Regions from separate parts of the Homo sapiens genome. Here region 2 is linked to region 1. Evidence: promoter capture Hi-C in 16 types of primary human blood cells and fetal thymus (Javierre and others, 2016). All regions are on one chromosome and are shown on one strand. Each heading gives the region's core, a stretch centred on a gene start or on the middle of the fragment in contact. The rest is flanking DNA. Distances are from core to core; before and after follow the strand shown.

Region 1 (7,125 bases), core at 3,433-5,932:
GGTTTATTATTTAGATCAACGTTCTGATAGGTAAATACAATTGCAACATGACTGGTAACACCAGCAGACCTGCTGGCTTTTTGAGCCAATACTTTTCCACTAGTTTATCTCATAGGCAGTAAAGAAAGTGACATTAAACACTGAAACATATTAGAGCAGTCTTTAGTCAGTGAAATATCCAACTCAGATCTACTTCTGATGGGCTAATCCTGTAGTAGAAGAAATAGGTGCTCTGACAGGTAACTATTAAGGGAAATGATTATGTAGAGCAGTTGATTGTATTCTCAGGGTACTCCAACAACCTTCAGACTCATTTCAAAACTTCAACTTTCATCCAAACCTAATCCATTTTCCCTGGAAAGAATAGCCATGCGGTTTTATTCTTCACTCAAGCTGGGTATTTAAAATAAATAAATTTTATAACATAAAAGTCTTCAATTATTTCCTTTTTTCTTTTTGCATAAATGCATTTAGATAGCTAAGACTTGATTTTTATAAAAAGTAAATATTTGGCTCTAGCTTCACTGGTGTGCTAAGAATGATTGTCACTTTTCCTCCTCTAAAAAGGCTCGATTTGCATCCAAAGGTCAGTGCTTGCTCTCCTGCCGTCCTTCCTCCTGCTGCTTCTCCTGGGCCCTCTAACTGGGGGCCTAGGCCAAAAGGAGAAGTGCTTCCCTTATCTCTCTTTTTCAAAACACGTGCTTTAAATGACCGGTTTGAGATAGAAAACTAAACTAAGGTACAGCACTTATCTCTGAGCATTTCGACCCAAAGGTGACAAAGAAGAAATGCCTGGGCTACCAGAGCGATAGTAAACCCTGGAGTCTGTTGGGTTCATGGTTTGACTATATGTGCACGCTAAGGGTAGGCAGTCCACCAGAAGCCTGACTCCTAACTTGGCCTATCCACCTGGTTTTTTGTTGATAAAGGCAGAACTTTTTACAACTAGGCAGCCACAATATAGGCTGGGTTCAGTCTTGGGGGTAAAGATTTCTGAGATAGGCTGGGGTTTAGTTTGTTTGTTTTGGTTTTGTGTTTTAGTAATCACAAAACATTAGATGGGCATTCCTGCACCTCTCTCCACCCTTTCTTCCAAAAGATCTGTGTGAGACCATTTTAAATACATCTTCAACTATGTCCTTCCTGGCTTTAATCTCATGCCAGGGGAGACTAATTGATTCAGCACCTTTCAAATAAGCTCTTTGGGAAAGGTCTGCAGCAAGATCAGAGGCACTGACCTTTTTCTCAATGATTGCAGGCATGTTCATCTCTCCAGATGGGCTCGATAAAACGGGGTTAGTTCTGTTCTGTGGTCTTGCTAAACAGAATAATACCATTTTTAACGATTTTGAGGTAGGGAAGAGGTATAAAAGAGAATTTCCTACACATATCTGATCATTTGTAGGGTCCCATGGCTCTTGAACTAGATTTAGAAAATGTTTTTACAAGGCCACTTTTGTTCAGTGTGACTTACCAAAAAGCTAAAATGAATGACTTTCGGGAGACCAAGATATCAATATCAAAAAAAGCCCATAGAATTAGTGAAAAATGGTTCAGCCTCGTGGTAAGAAAGATATGGAGGGAGAGGATATGTTAACAGACAGACAGTCCGCTTAGATCCGGATTCTGGGGCCTGGAACGCAAGTCAACCCTGAATGTGCAGCCAAACCGATCTGTGCTTCTCTTCCTCTCTCACCAGATCACAATTTACTGGGTGGCAAGCTGGGAGAGATCAAGCTTTGTCTGGTATGTCTTTTAAAACGTGATTAACGCTGAGCTTGATGCTAGCAGCCCGCAAGGGGTACTATAGGCTTACAGCCTAATTCCTTTCCCCAAGCGGAGCGGTACCTTCTCATCGCCTTTTTGGGGAACTACACTAAAGATCTAGTGTGCACTGAACAGGTCTGTGGGAACCAGGAAGGCAGAGGAAGGAAGGGAGGCTCCCGGGAGCCCAGGCCCCGGCAAGGCCCTTACAGTTCCCAGACCCGCCAAACCGAAAGAGAGACCCTGGAGAGGGCTGAGCCCCTGTGGGCCTGGCTGGAGGCCTCGGGTAGGATGCTGAGGCAAGAGCCACAGCGGTCCGAGTCCAAGAACCACGTCCAGACTCAGCTTAAGGTTCCGAGGTGAAAGGCCTGGCCTAGAAGGGAGGGAGAGAGATCTGAAGAAGAGGGGGTGGGTGAAAGAAACGTGGACACTACAACTGCGTTTTCTGCTCCTGCAGCTGAGCGTGCCTGGACAAGTATGTAGGATTTCCCAATTGGGGGATCTAAGTACTCTCGAAAACTATGATCAGTTTTCTATTAGGTACCCTACCCCACAACAACAGATATCATTATTTCCTGGTTGAGTGTGGGTCGCATTAGGCCCAGGACAAGTGTGCCAATTGGGACCAGTATCAAAAGAGAGCCTTGAAGAAAGAAAGAAAGGGCTTCCCAGGAACTAAGCTGACCTCTCAGTGCCTCTAGGGAAGACATTTTTGCTGGAGGCAGGGCTATGAGCACAAGTGGGGCGCCCTGTGGGTGTGCAACCGCGGTCGGGGAGCACAGGCTTCCGAAGAGAAACTGAGCTCTAAGTGCCACTCAGGCCGGACGAGTTCCAGAGGGGGACAGCGCCCTCCTCGAAAAGCCTTGGTTTCTCCCCGCCCCCTCTTGTGACAGAAAGTTGGCAAGGATGCCCCGTAGGAGTGCGAGCCGCTCCCCTCCTCCGAAAAGCCGCGGGCTTCCGCTGCTCCGGGCATCACCACCAACAGCTTCCCACTCCCACCCCTGGGACTAGGACAGGGGACTTCACCCTCCTCCTTCCTTCCGGAGGAGCCCGCGGCTTCGCCTGAGGCCTCGCGGGCCCAACTTCTCCCCACCGCTAGGGTCACGCCGGGTCCCAGGGGCCTCTTTCAAGTTTGAAAGCTCTGTGGGGGCACGGAGAGCCCACAGTAAGGATGGGTGGGCGCCTCTGCTCCCGGGCAGGCTCAGCTGTCATCCCGTCTCGCCTTGGCCCTCACCTACAGGGCCTGACCCCGGGCCAGCCCAGCTAGGCAAGGCCTCCTCGCTTCCGAGACCCCCCAGCCCCCGGGTGCAGTCCCCAGCATCGGCTGCCCCCGCCCCCCGCGCGCCCTCTGACGCAAACGCACGCCCCTGCCCCGCACGGAGGAAAGCGCTCTTGTTGGTTTTAATTGAGCCTCTTCCTTTCAACACACCCCCTCTGTCCCCACCCCTGGGAGGCGACCCCCTCCCCGCCCCCAGCCGGCTGGCAGCGGCGCAGGGAGTCTGGCTCGGCTGCTAGGCTGCGAATCCCGGTGCTCTCTCGCCGCCGCCGCAGGTTGTCTGCTCGGGAGAGCGGCTCGATGTCCCTTTTAATCCGCTGACACTATCGCCCACATCAGACAGGCAGCCATCGATCGCGTTACATTAGGGGATGGCGTTACAAACGGCGTCCGCAGGTGGGCGGCTGCAGCCAAGCTCGCCAGGTTCAGGCCGTAACCAGGCAAGGCGCGGGCACAAGGGCCAGCCGGGCCGGACTCTGCAGCCGGCTCCACCGCGGGTCGCGCTCGGCACCAGCAGGAACAGCCGGGCCGGTGTTAAACGTGCGGGTCCCCGTCCTCCGCCCGGGCATCCGTTTCCCGCCTAGGAGAGAGAGGGAATAGCGGGTGGGGGTGGGAGCAGCCTGTTTTGAATGTGGATTGCTGCTCGCCTGGCACGATCCTCCCCTCCAAGGAGGCGCGGCGGCCGCGATCCTCGCCTTAGCGCTACGGCGAGACAGAGGCCGAGCGAGGGCAACTCCCGAGCAGGCCCCGAAGAAAGTTCTCCTCGTCCCGCCCTGGCTGCCTAGACTCTGCTCTCGGCCTGCGGAGGCCGTGCGAGCCAAGACTGCCTCCCGGCCCTGCCCGTTACCAACCCCAAGTTCAAGAGAAACGACAACCATTATGTTACTTGCCTGGTGAGGCAGGATTTGGCCGAGTCTCGTTTCTGGTGCCCACGACGCACGGTCCAGGGTCCGAGGGCGGCTGGGCCGGCGGACTGGGCATCCAGTGTGCCTGCGGTGCCCTGGCGCTCGCTGTCGCTGGTCTCCCACTCCCTTCGTCTCTCTCCGCGTTCTCCTTCCCTCGCCCTATCTCCCTCTCTCCGCCTGCTGCCTCTGCCCTCGACTCCCTGCCTCTGACTGTATGGGGAGTACGATTTAGAATCTGTACATAGAAAGGTTTTCTTTTCTTTCTTTTCTTTTGGTCTATTTTAATCGTGTTCGTTTCACCTTTTAACTGACCAGAAGACGGGAGCGCGTTTGCGCGTTTATTTGGGCATAGGGACGAGGGCAAGGAGCCCCTGCTACCCCCAGTCGCCTCCTCGCCATCAGCTGCGTACAATGGGCCACCGCTCGCGGAGTGCATTGACAGTTCTCCATTATTCGAGCTGGAGGGGCTGTGGGGCAGGCACGGGAAAACCTTTTATTCTGCTCTTTAAAATCATCGCTCGTCACTAAGCGGTCGCCGACTCCCGACTTGTAGGCTGGAGAGACCAGGAAGCGCAAAACGTCCCCCAAACACGCAGTGCTTCCCAAACCCCTCCCTGGTGAGACTTAAAGTGAGAACGAGTATTAAAAAACAAACCCTACCTCTGTCAATACAGCGTGGCCATTTACTTCCACCTTTACCTGAGGGCGTGTTGGCGCTAGGAATGCTCGAGCTGAGACAAACTTTTACGCCCTCGCGAGTCGAGGGGCGGGCGGGCGAGCGCGGCTCCCACCCCCGGCGGCGGCAGCGGCGGCTTTGTCACTCCGCGCGGCTCCGCGCCCGCCTGAGCCTGCCTAGGGGAGCGATCTCAAAACGAGGGGGGTGCGAGTATGCGATTGGAGAATATGTAACTAATAGAAGTATCATTTTCCCCCAGTACGATCTTTCAAGGAAAAAAAAATCCATTGAAAGAATTTTCAAAGTGCTGTCTTCGTTTGGAGAAAAGGCACAGGCTGCCTGCGGGGAGGGGAGGAGGGACTCGGCTGTGTGCCGCCCGGGAGCGGCTCCCGTCCGCTAGGTGGCAGCCGGAGCCAGCGATTCCTGCAAGCCCCGCCGCGGGACCCGCTCCTCCCGCCTGCCCCTCCTCCCGCGACCAATCACCTTCAGGATTCAGGAATCGGGGTCTCGGTCTCTCTCTCTCTCTCTCTCTCTCTCTCTCTCTCTCTCTCTCTCTCTCTCTCTCTCTCTCTCTCTCCCCCTCTCCCTCTCCCTCTCCCTCTCCTCTCTCCCTCTCCCTCTCCCTCTCCCTCTCCCTCTCCCTCTCCCTCTCCCTCTCGTCTCTCTCTCTCTCTCTCTCCTCTCTCTCTCTCTCTCCTCTCTCTCTCTCTCCTCTCTCCTCTCTCTCTCGGTCTCTCTCTCTCTCTCTGGGTCTCTCTCTCTCTCTCTCTCTCTGGGTCTCTCTCTCTCTCCTCTCTCTCTGGGTCTCTCTCTCTCTCCTCTCTCTCTCTCTCCCCTCTCCTCTCTTCTCTCTCTCTCTCTCTCAATATCTCGCGCGCTCTCCTCTCTCCTCTCTTTCCTTTCCTCTCCTCTCTCTCTGTCTCTCTCTCTCCTCCTCCCCCTTTTCTCTCTCCCTCTCCGCCTCCCCCCCTCTCCATCTTCTCGTTTGTTTGCTCTTTTCCCGGGACTGACTTGGCCACACTAATCTCCCCCCACCCTGCAACAATATGGGGACTTACTACTGTTTTATTAATAATGATTGAAGCATTGTTGGAGTTTGGAACAGCCAGGTGATAAAAAAAAAAAAAAAGAAGAAGGAAAAATTGGATTGATTGGAAAGTTTATTTTTAAAATCATCTTTGGGATAAATAGGAACCCTTGATTCCGATCGAATTTGTGGCAATAGCTGCAAATTCCAGGAGTGTGCTTTGTCATCATTAAACCTTTTAAACCAAGGTATACTTTGGATTAAAAAATAGGGAGATCCTACCCTGTTTCTACTTGTTTCTAAAAAGGATATAAAATGAGCAGAATCCAGACTTGGATTGTGCTTATATGTGAGAGAAGAAAACAATCCAAATCCAGTATATTTCACAAATCATTAAAATGGTGGGGGTTTCATTCCCATTAAAAATTTTTCCAAACATTTTCAATGACACTCTCTTCACGCTCATAAAATCTAATTTTAAAAACTTTTCAGAAGAAATCAAAATAATTTCCCTCTAATTCTCCTTTTGCCCATCGCTAGGCGTTCTCCCCCTCGTCATCCCTTCCCCCTCTGGGGTGTGAGCGTAAGTGTGTGTGTGTGTATGTGTGTGTGTGTGTGACCATAGACGACCCATACTAATCAGGTCTCAGAGTAAATAGCAGCGCAGGGCGATCTCAATGTAAATTGCGCTTGTCAGAAACACACCCCCCTCCCTCACTTTCTCTCCTCCTCCCCACACCATCCCAGTCTGTAGGTAGCTAAGCGGGGGGGGGAGAAAGAAAGCAAAAGAGGAGGGGGGAGGGGCTCTCCAACCAATGGCGTGCAGGAGGCTTGGCTAACCTTAGCCTCCCATTTTCTCTCCCCCCGATTCAGGGCTCTGACCAGTCAGTCGCCTTTGATTATCAGTTGCCAGCAGCCCTTCTCTTGGCTCCTTGACACGAGCTCCATATAAGGCAGCGATCTCCATAGAAACGTGTCAGTTTCAATAGTAGTGTCAAAGTTCACTATATACAGACATTCGCGCAGATCCCCCTTTCGGAAACATTGCTCTGCGAGTCCTCCCGTTTAAACGCATTCAATTTTTGGGTCTCTCTCTCTCTCTCTCTCTCTCTTCTTCTCTTCTCTCTCTCTCTCTCTCTCCTCTCTCTCTCTCCTCTTTCTCCCCCCTCTCTCCCTCCTCTCCTCTCTCTCTCCTCTCTTCTCTGAACCTCTCTTCTCTTTCTCTTTTCTTACATATTCTACTAGTTGTTTTCCCCTTCTTCTTCTCCTTTCTCTCCTTTTTCTCCCTCCTCCTTGTCTCTTTTACTCCATTCCTGCAGAAGAGAGAGGGCTAAACTTAAAGAAAAAAAAAAGGAGGAGGAGGAGGAGGAGGCACCCCCTTCGTATTCTTCTTATCGTTATTTTATACATATATGATTTTTTTTGGAGGGAGGGTGTTGGTTGCCGGCTGAAGAGCACTTATTTAAAATACTAAAAA
Region 2 (7,125 bases), core at 3,466-5,965, 5.4 Mb before region 1:
GTAGGCACTTCCATCTGGAATTAGATGGCGTGTATCACCATCTGACTCTACCATTTACTCACTGTGCACCTTTGGACAGGCTAGTTGACTTCTCTGTTCTTCTGTGGTTTAATCTATAAAATGAAGATGATGATAATACTATCCACTTCCTACAGCTGCTGTGTAGATCAAAGGAATTAAAATATGTAAAGTTATTAGAATACTACTTGCCACTAAGTATACTCCTTGAAATGACAGCTATTTTAAATATTTCTGAACCTCAGTATCTTTCAATGTAAAATAAAGATAATAATTACCTTTAACAATCTGTCTTATAAGATTGTTGTGAGATAATTTATATGAAAGTGCTTTGTCAATCGAGTATATAATATACAAATGTATAATGGTCTGTGTAATATAATAATGAACACTAATACTAGTAGGTAACACATAATTCCTTCTCAGAGTATTCTTTAGCCATCTTACAGATGGAAATTTCACTTGCAGTCCTTCCTAAATGCACCAAAACTAAAATGAAACCTTTACTTTTATGTTGCTGGAATTCTAATCAACGAGAATTCGAGACAATGGGGAAAATAACAAATTGTTATTGAATTTATTTTTTAATAATCATTTGAATGGATTGTCTTAACAGATGAACCTGTAGGCATTGATGACCACATTTTAAAAATGATATTAGAGTAAATACAGAATATTCAGTCTTTTAAAAATGTTAACCACTTGGGATGTCTGTTGACATTTTGCAAAGCAAACCATAAATGTACTTAAACCGATGAGTAAAACATTAAAATTAAAAATCAGCCCATCTTTTCTCCGAGTACCTTTTTCAAATGGCACAGAGAACTTTACACAAGCTCCAGGCACCTCTATATTTAATTCCTAGGGGCAATGGTATTCATCAGTGCATTAAGCAGCCTGGTCAGGTACTGCTGAGTCAACCTCGTTCTGGGACTCTCCTTGCTTGTGAATGCAACATGCAGGCCTTGAGATGTCATTATTCCGACGTTATGATAAGGCACTCACTTATGCTGCTTTACAGGAGAAAGAACCAGAGTTTAAAAGCCATAGCCACCGATTTATATTATGCTACTGTAACACTCTTGAACAGAATCTCATTTTAAAAGACAGTGCCTGCAAGAGAAAATCTTCACTGGCTTAATCCATGATTATGAATTTGGTGGTCATTTGAAAGGTGTCTCTTCTTTTTTTTTTTCTGTTATTTTGTTTTACCATCAATAGTTTAATTTTCATTAGAAATCACAGTCTTGGTACTAAGTCAGCACCAATTTATTTGTAGCACAAAGCGCAAAGGTGATCTTCTTTTTTTTTGTTTGCTTGTTGTTTGTTTGTTTTTTTTTTGAGACGGAGTCTCACTCTGTTGCCCAGGCTGAAGTGCAGTGGCACAATTTCAGCTCACTGCAAGCTCTGCCTCCCGGGTTCAGGCCATTCTCCTGCCTCAGCCTCCTAAGTAGCTGGGATTACTGGCGCCCACCACCACACCTGGTTAATTTTTTTGTATTTTTAGTAGAGACAGGGTTTCACCATGTTAGCCAGGATGGTCTCAATCTCCTGACCTTGTGATCTGCCCGCCTCAGCCTCCCAAAGTGCTGGGATTACAGGTGTGAGCCACCGCACCCGGACAGTGATTTTCTTTTAATGGAAGAACTACTGTTAAGTCACTGGACTGATGAGCTTCACAGGGCCAACACTTCTTAGCTTGGACATGTTTACTAAACAAGTTAAGAGTGCATGCTCTAAATTACCTTGTTTGAATAGGGGCTGTAAATTAGGTTATTGTGAGGAAATGACCACTTTCTCAAAATCTTCAAAGTGCACCAGGAAACATGAAGCTTGGGTGTGTTATAATTAATTGGGAAAATGGTGGATGCCTCAATCATTGCAATTTGGCATGACTAATGAAAGAGTTCTATCACAGCAAAGTCTAGGGTTCATAAAGTGCTTCTTGCCGGGGGAATCTTAAATCATAAATAGCAACATGTTTAGTCCTCTGCCCTTTTATAAGAGATAAAATTGTGGTACAAATAAAGTAGGCTTTTTTCCAAGGTGGCACAGAACTTAACAAAGTGAAAATGTGGCATTTACATTCCTTGATTTATAACCTTTATAACGTTTACTTAAGAATGTATCCAAAGGAAATTCCTATTGTTTATTTTACCATTTGTTTAGTTGAATTGTTAATTAAAACTTTTTTCCAGTATCATTTGCCAGAGGGTGATGCTGATTATAAGAACTAAAACTAGGGATGACATGCACTCTCACATGTAGCAACTGGATACAATTTTAAGTTCAAAACACAGCCTATTCTAGCAAGAAGACTAGGATTAGACAATAGCACCCCTTGCATCCCAATACTGCCATCAGTCTTTACAGTTGGGATTGTCCTTTCTTGACTCTGAACCACACCCAAAAGGTCATCAATCTGTGAATGTTTATTTACACTTCTCCTTACCATCTTGCACGTTATTGACTCTTACAGCTGCCTTTGAAAGAGAGCTTTCAAATAGCCATGAGGAACTAGAGGTTTTTTAAATAAATAAATAAATAAGGCTCCAAATATCAACAAACAGTTGATATTTGACTTTGGAATTCAAGGGATACATTAATAAGTGCTTATGTACCCACAGGCTTCCTTACTCTGTGCCTGAACTCAGCACCCAATCTATGTACCCTAGCTATCAGCTTTTCAGGGTCCTGATGAGAAACAAACAAGAGGAAATCAAACACTTGAGTGTTGACAGTACAGTCCAGAATCTGGAATTACTGTGACTCCTTACAAGTGCTCAGAACTCCTTAATTGGTTATGTGAATTTGTCATCCTCTATCAAATGTATGGGGATACTGCCTGCAAGTAAACCTCCACTCAGACCTCAGAAAGCAAAGGTCAATCTTTCAAGGAGAATTTAGGAAATATTTAGAAACAAAGAATAATTCCACACTAGGAAAGTCATAGGTGCTCAAACAGTAAGAAATTTAAATCCTCCACTACATATATGTAAGTTCACACATGCTGGTCATCAGCTGGCATCTTTAGTGAGTATCTTCTATTGAACTCACTACAAGTAAGTAAGCTGAAGGGCAATTTCTGAAATACTGTGAACATGTGTGTTTTTCTATATAGTTGGCTGGGTAGGTTCTTACCTAGCTCTACACAGTATTTAACACCAGATTATAGATTAGCCTCTCAGGGGAAATAATGGTACACACTTATTATATGTAATATAATAGCCATTCACAGAAGATCCCCATTATACATGACAGCAATGAACCCAGTCCCTGGAATTAAGAAACTGTACATCAGGGCTGGGTGTGGTGGCTCACACCTGTAATCCCAGCACTTTGGGAGGCTGAGGCGGGCAGATCACAAGGTCAGGAGATCGAGACCATCCTGGCTAACATGGTGAAACCCCGTCTCTACTAAAAATACAAAAAATTAGCCGGGCTTAGTGGCAGGCACCTGTAGTCCCAGCTACTCAGGAGGCTGAGGCAGGAGAATGGCGTGAACCCAGGAGGCAGAATTTGCAGTGAGCCAAGATCGCACCAGTGCACTCCAGCCTGGGCGACAGAGCGAGACTCCATCTCAAAAAAATAAAATAAAAAAATTAAAAAAAAACTGTACATCAGAAACAACTCAAATGGCCTTCAACAACTTTTAAAAGGATAAACCATCTGTGGTACGTTCATGCAATGAAATACTACTCAGCAATCAAAAAGAGCAAACTGTTGATACACCCAACAACACAGATGAAGATCAAATCCATTATGCTAGTAAAAAGAAGCCACACAGAAGAAAGCTACATACTGTATGATTCTATTTATATGACATTCTGTAAAAGGCAAAACTACAGGAATGGAAAACAGATCAGTGGTTTCCAGGGTTACAGGATATTGGGAGGGATTGACTGCAAAGGGCAGCACAAAGAAGTTTTGGGGGATGATGAAATTCTGTTTCTTGCTTGTGGTCGTGATTACATTACACACTGGTAAAACTCAAAGAATTTATATCCCTGAAAAAGTGAATTGTACTGTATTTAACCTAAATATCAAAAGTTCAAAAGCTTCACATAGTTTATATTTCTCATTCTCATGTATTCAAGAAGAAGAATTGTCTTTCAAATATTCCTACTAAACTCCTGCTTATCACTTTCAAGAACTTAGCTTCAAAGTTAGCTCTTCTGTAAAGCCTTCCCATACCTCTCTATGTTCTGGCTTCTTTCTAAGATTTTTTTAAGGAAATAAACATTACTCATATAGCCAATATCCATGTGGATAAAGGCTCCTTCTCTTCCAGGGGTCTCCCCCATGCTGGAGTTCGCACGCATTCTTCCCCAACATGCTTTTATACTTTTATTACATAGTTACGTACCAACAAATTGTTATGGGAAGGATAATTTTACGTTAATAGATATTAATATTGCATCAATATCACATTTTTTTTGAGACGGAGTCTTGCTCTGTTGCCCCGGCTAGAATGCAGCGATCTCGGCTAACTGCAACCTCCGCCTCCAGGGTTCAAGCAATTCTCCTGCCTCAGCCTCCCGAGTAACTGGGATTATAGGCGCCTGCCACCGCCCCTGGCTAACTTTTGTACTTTTAGTAGAGACGGGTTTCACCATCTTGGCCAGGCTGGTCTCGAATTCCTGACCTCGTAATCCACCCTCCTCGGCCTCCCAAAGTGCTGGGATTACAGGCGTGAGTCACCGCGCCCGGCCAATATCACATGTATTCTTTTGCAATTTGCTTTTTTTCATCCAACATTGCTTTTAAGATAGTCAATTCATAAAGAGTATTTCACTGTAGGGATATGCCAATACATTAATTCACTGCACTTTTGACAGATATTTAAGCTGTTTCCATGCTCCATGTTACACTGTGCCATATTTATCTGTTATTATATCTCTTCTTCTTGCAAGACAATGAGCAATTCCAGAACAGAAAGCATCCAGAATTCCTATCCCTTTCCCTAATTTCCGGTACACCTGCAAATCACTGCCTGCGTAATGTGTTTCGCATGGAAAAAGATGCTGTGTACCTGGCACACAATAAGCACCACTCCATAAAAATGTGTTGAAAGAATAAAAGCTGACAAAATGTTATTTTAAATCTTGCGGTCTCTACTCACTTCTCTGCGGTGTAAGATTTAAGGGGGAACTGACTCAATTCTCACTAAAAAGTCCCTTAGTATTCCAATGTGGACGTAGAGAGATCTATGAAACAAGGTCACTTCACAATTCTCTTGCTTTCGCGTTAGAGGATCTCAAAGCACTACACAAACCGCGATTTTCTCCAGTGATTTTTCCTCTCAATGTGCCTCAAGGTCAGTTCAGAGCAGTATTCAAAGCTTGAATACTCTTCACCAGCAGCTGTAAAGGGCCGGAAAACCAGAGTCTGGATGTAAATAACAGTAACAAACTATTCCCGGATCTTGTTTTTTCTTTTCTTTTCATGGGTCCCCGTTTGCGCTCTTAGTCGGCTTACCCGTCCTGTTCCAGGAGCCGACAGGGAACAGCCCACCTGGAGCAGGTCTTGGGCCACCACTCGCCCCGCCCCCCGTCTCTACTCCTCACTCGCTCTCCCCGCTCCTATTAAGCAGCCAACGCTGGGTGATCTCCTCTCCAGTTCTTCGTGGTTTCATTGTAGCCTTGATATACAAGACAAATGCACACTTTACTCTGGGCTTAAAAAACCATCTATCATCATCCTTTGGGCATGACAAATACATTGTGTGTTTCAGAGAAATTAATCTGGTATTTAGGGGGAGAAAGGCATTTCCAACCAGTCTCCGTGCAGAACCTTCCCGCAAACCCTGTAGCGGCATTTTTCGACACTTTTCTCCTCCTTTCGGCAAGCCTCAAACTTGACCTTCGAGAGGATTTTAAGGGTAGAGCCTTCCTCCCTTTCCCTCGTCTGCTCCAAGAGCTCACGTAGGCCTTCTTCTGGGAAACAGCGGCTCAGGACCAGAGCTCGGAGAACTGCGCGTCCAGGAGCGCGGGCGCGGCCGGGGAAAAGGGAGGAGGCGGCAGGAGGGGGCAGGAGGTGGAGGGAGGAGGAGGATCGGTCTGAATATGCATGAGGCACCCAGCACTGCCCTCTTCCCCGGCAGCTGCTCGGGCGGGGGCGAAGGAGGGAAGGGGAGGGGAGGGGAGGAAATGAGGCTGGGGCGGGGTGGCCAGAGCAGCCGCAGAGGCTGACGCGGGTTTGGAGAACGGAAGAGATGATTTGCATGGCGCCTGGTGATTGGCTGATGGCCGGGGGCTGGGTCTGAGAGGCGGCCCCTGAATGGTTTAACGGAGGAAATTACAAGATTCATTCGACTAAAGAAAGCCGGGGCGGGCCTGGTCGGCGCAATATGCAGCCTGTCCGCAAGGGGGCGCGATGGCCTATCTTTGTTCTGGTTAAAGGCTCCTTTTCCCTCCTCCCCCGCCCCCGCCTCCGCCCCCGCCCCCGCCCCCACCCCCCACACACAGACACACACGCAGAAAGTGCAGAGAAACCCTGTGATCCAGTCAACTGGCTCTGCCCCATCTATTAAGAAAGATGAACACTCCTTTCTCTTCCATCTCCTTCATGGGAGACCACTTTTCATTTCAGATTATCACATCAATAAATATTCTTCGAGGAATAAAAAAGGCACTTTGCCAAAAGATAAGAGAATATATATGCAATGTCTGGATTGTGGAGAAAGACAATACATGAAGGCAAGAGAATAGGCACATATATGTAAATATGCACATAATCACCTCCGAGAACGCAAAGCACGGGAGGTAGAGACAAACAGAACACCTGGAGAGAACACATATCGCTCACAAGGTTCTCACAGGCTGTGCACGCTCTTCCACACACCGAGGCACACACCCACTGACCGGCACGCAGTCTCCCCCTCCACACACACACACACACACACACACACACACACACACACACAGAGACGGACCTCAGAAAAGGCATCCAAATGAATTCACACTCAGTGGAAAGACTGCCGAGAAAATACTAGAGAAGAATTAAAATGGTTCATCCCCTCCCCCTCCAAAAAAAATACTCAAGCGAAATGACTCTATTTGCATAATACTAATATACGCAGGACGCAGACACGGGCAAGAAAAAAAA

What was found. The method cuts DNA at HindIII sites, captures the fragments that hold promoters and counts their contacts. A CHiCAGO score of 5 or more calls a contact.
Region 2: a contact is called between a fragment that was not itself captured here and the fragment with the promoter of NR2F1-AS1 in region 1, in 1 of 17 cell types (total B cells). The highest score is 7.9, in total B cells.

The regions. Positions count from the first base shown.
Region 1 is chr5:93,576,537-93,583,661 of GRCh38, forward strand. It overlaps NR2F1-AS1 (NR2F1 regulatory antisense RNA 1), which reads right to left and starts at 4,683. Exons shown (of 8, transcript NR_186187.1): 1 at 4,606-4,683. NR2F1 (nuclear receptor subfamily 2 group F member 1) reads left to right here and starts at 6,686. Exons shown (of 3, transcript NM_005654.6): 1 at 6,686-7,125. RefSeq lists an enhancer at 4,859-4,958 and a silencer at 5,079-5,128. The HindIII fragment of the contact is 7,751 bases long and covers 1,736-7,125 here.
Region 2 is chr5:88,135,296-88,142,420 of GRCh38, forward strand. No RefSeq gene overlaps it. Among named protein-coding and RNA genes, the nearest start is that of TMEM161B, 130 kb to the right of the region's middle. RefSeq lists an enhancer at 5,780-6,281 and a silencer at 6,144-6,193. The HindIII fragment of the contact is 1,283 bases long and covers 4,075-5,357 here.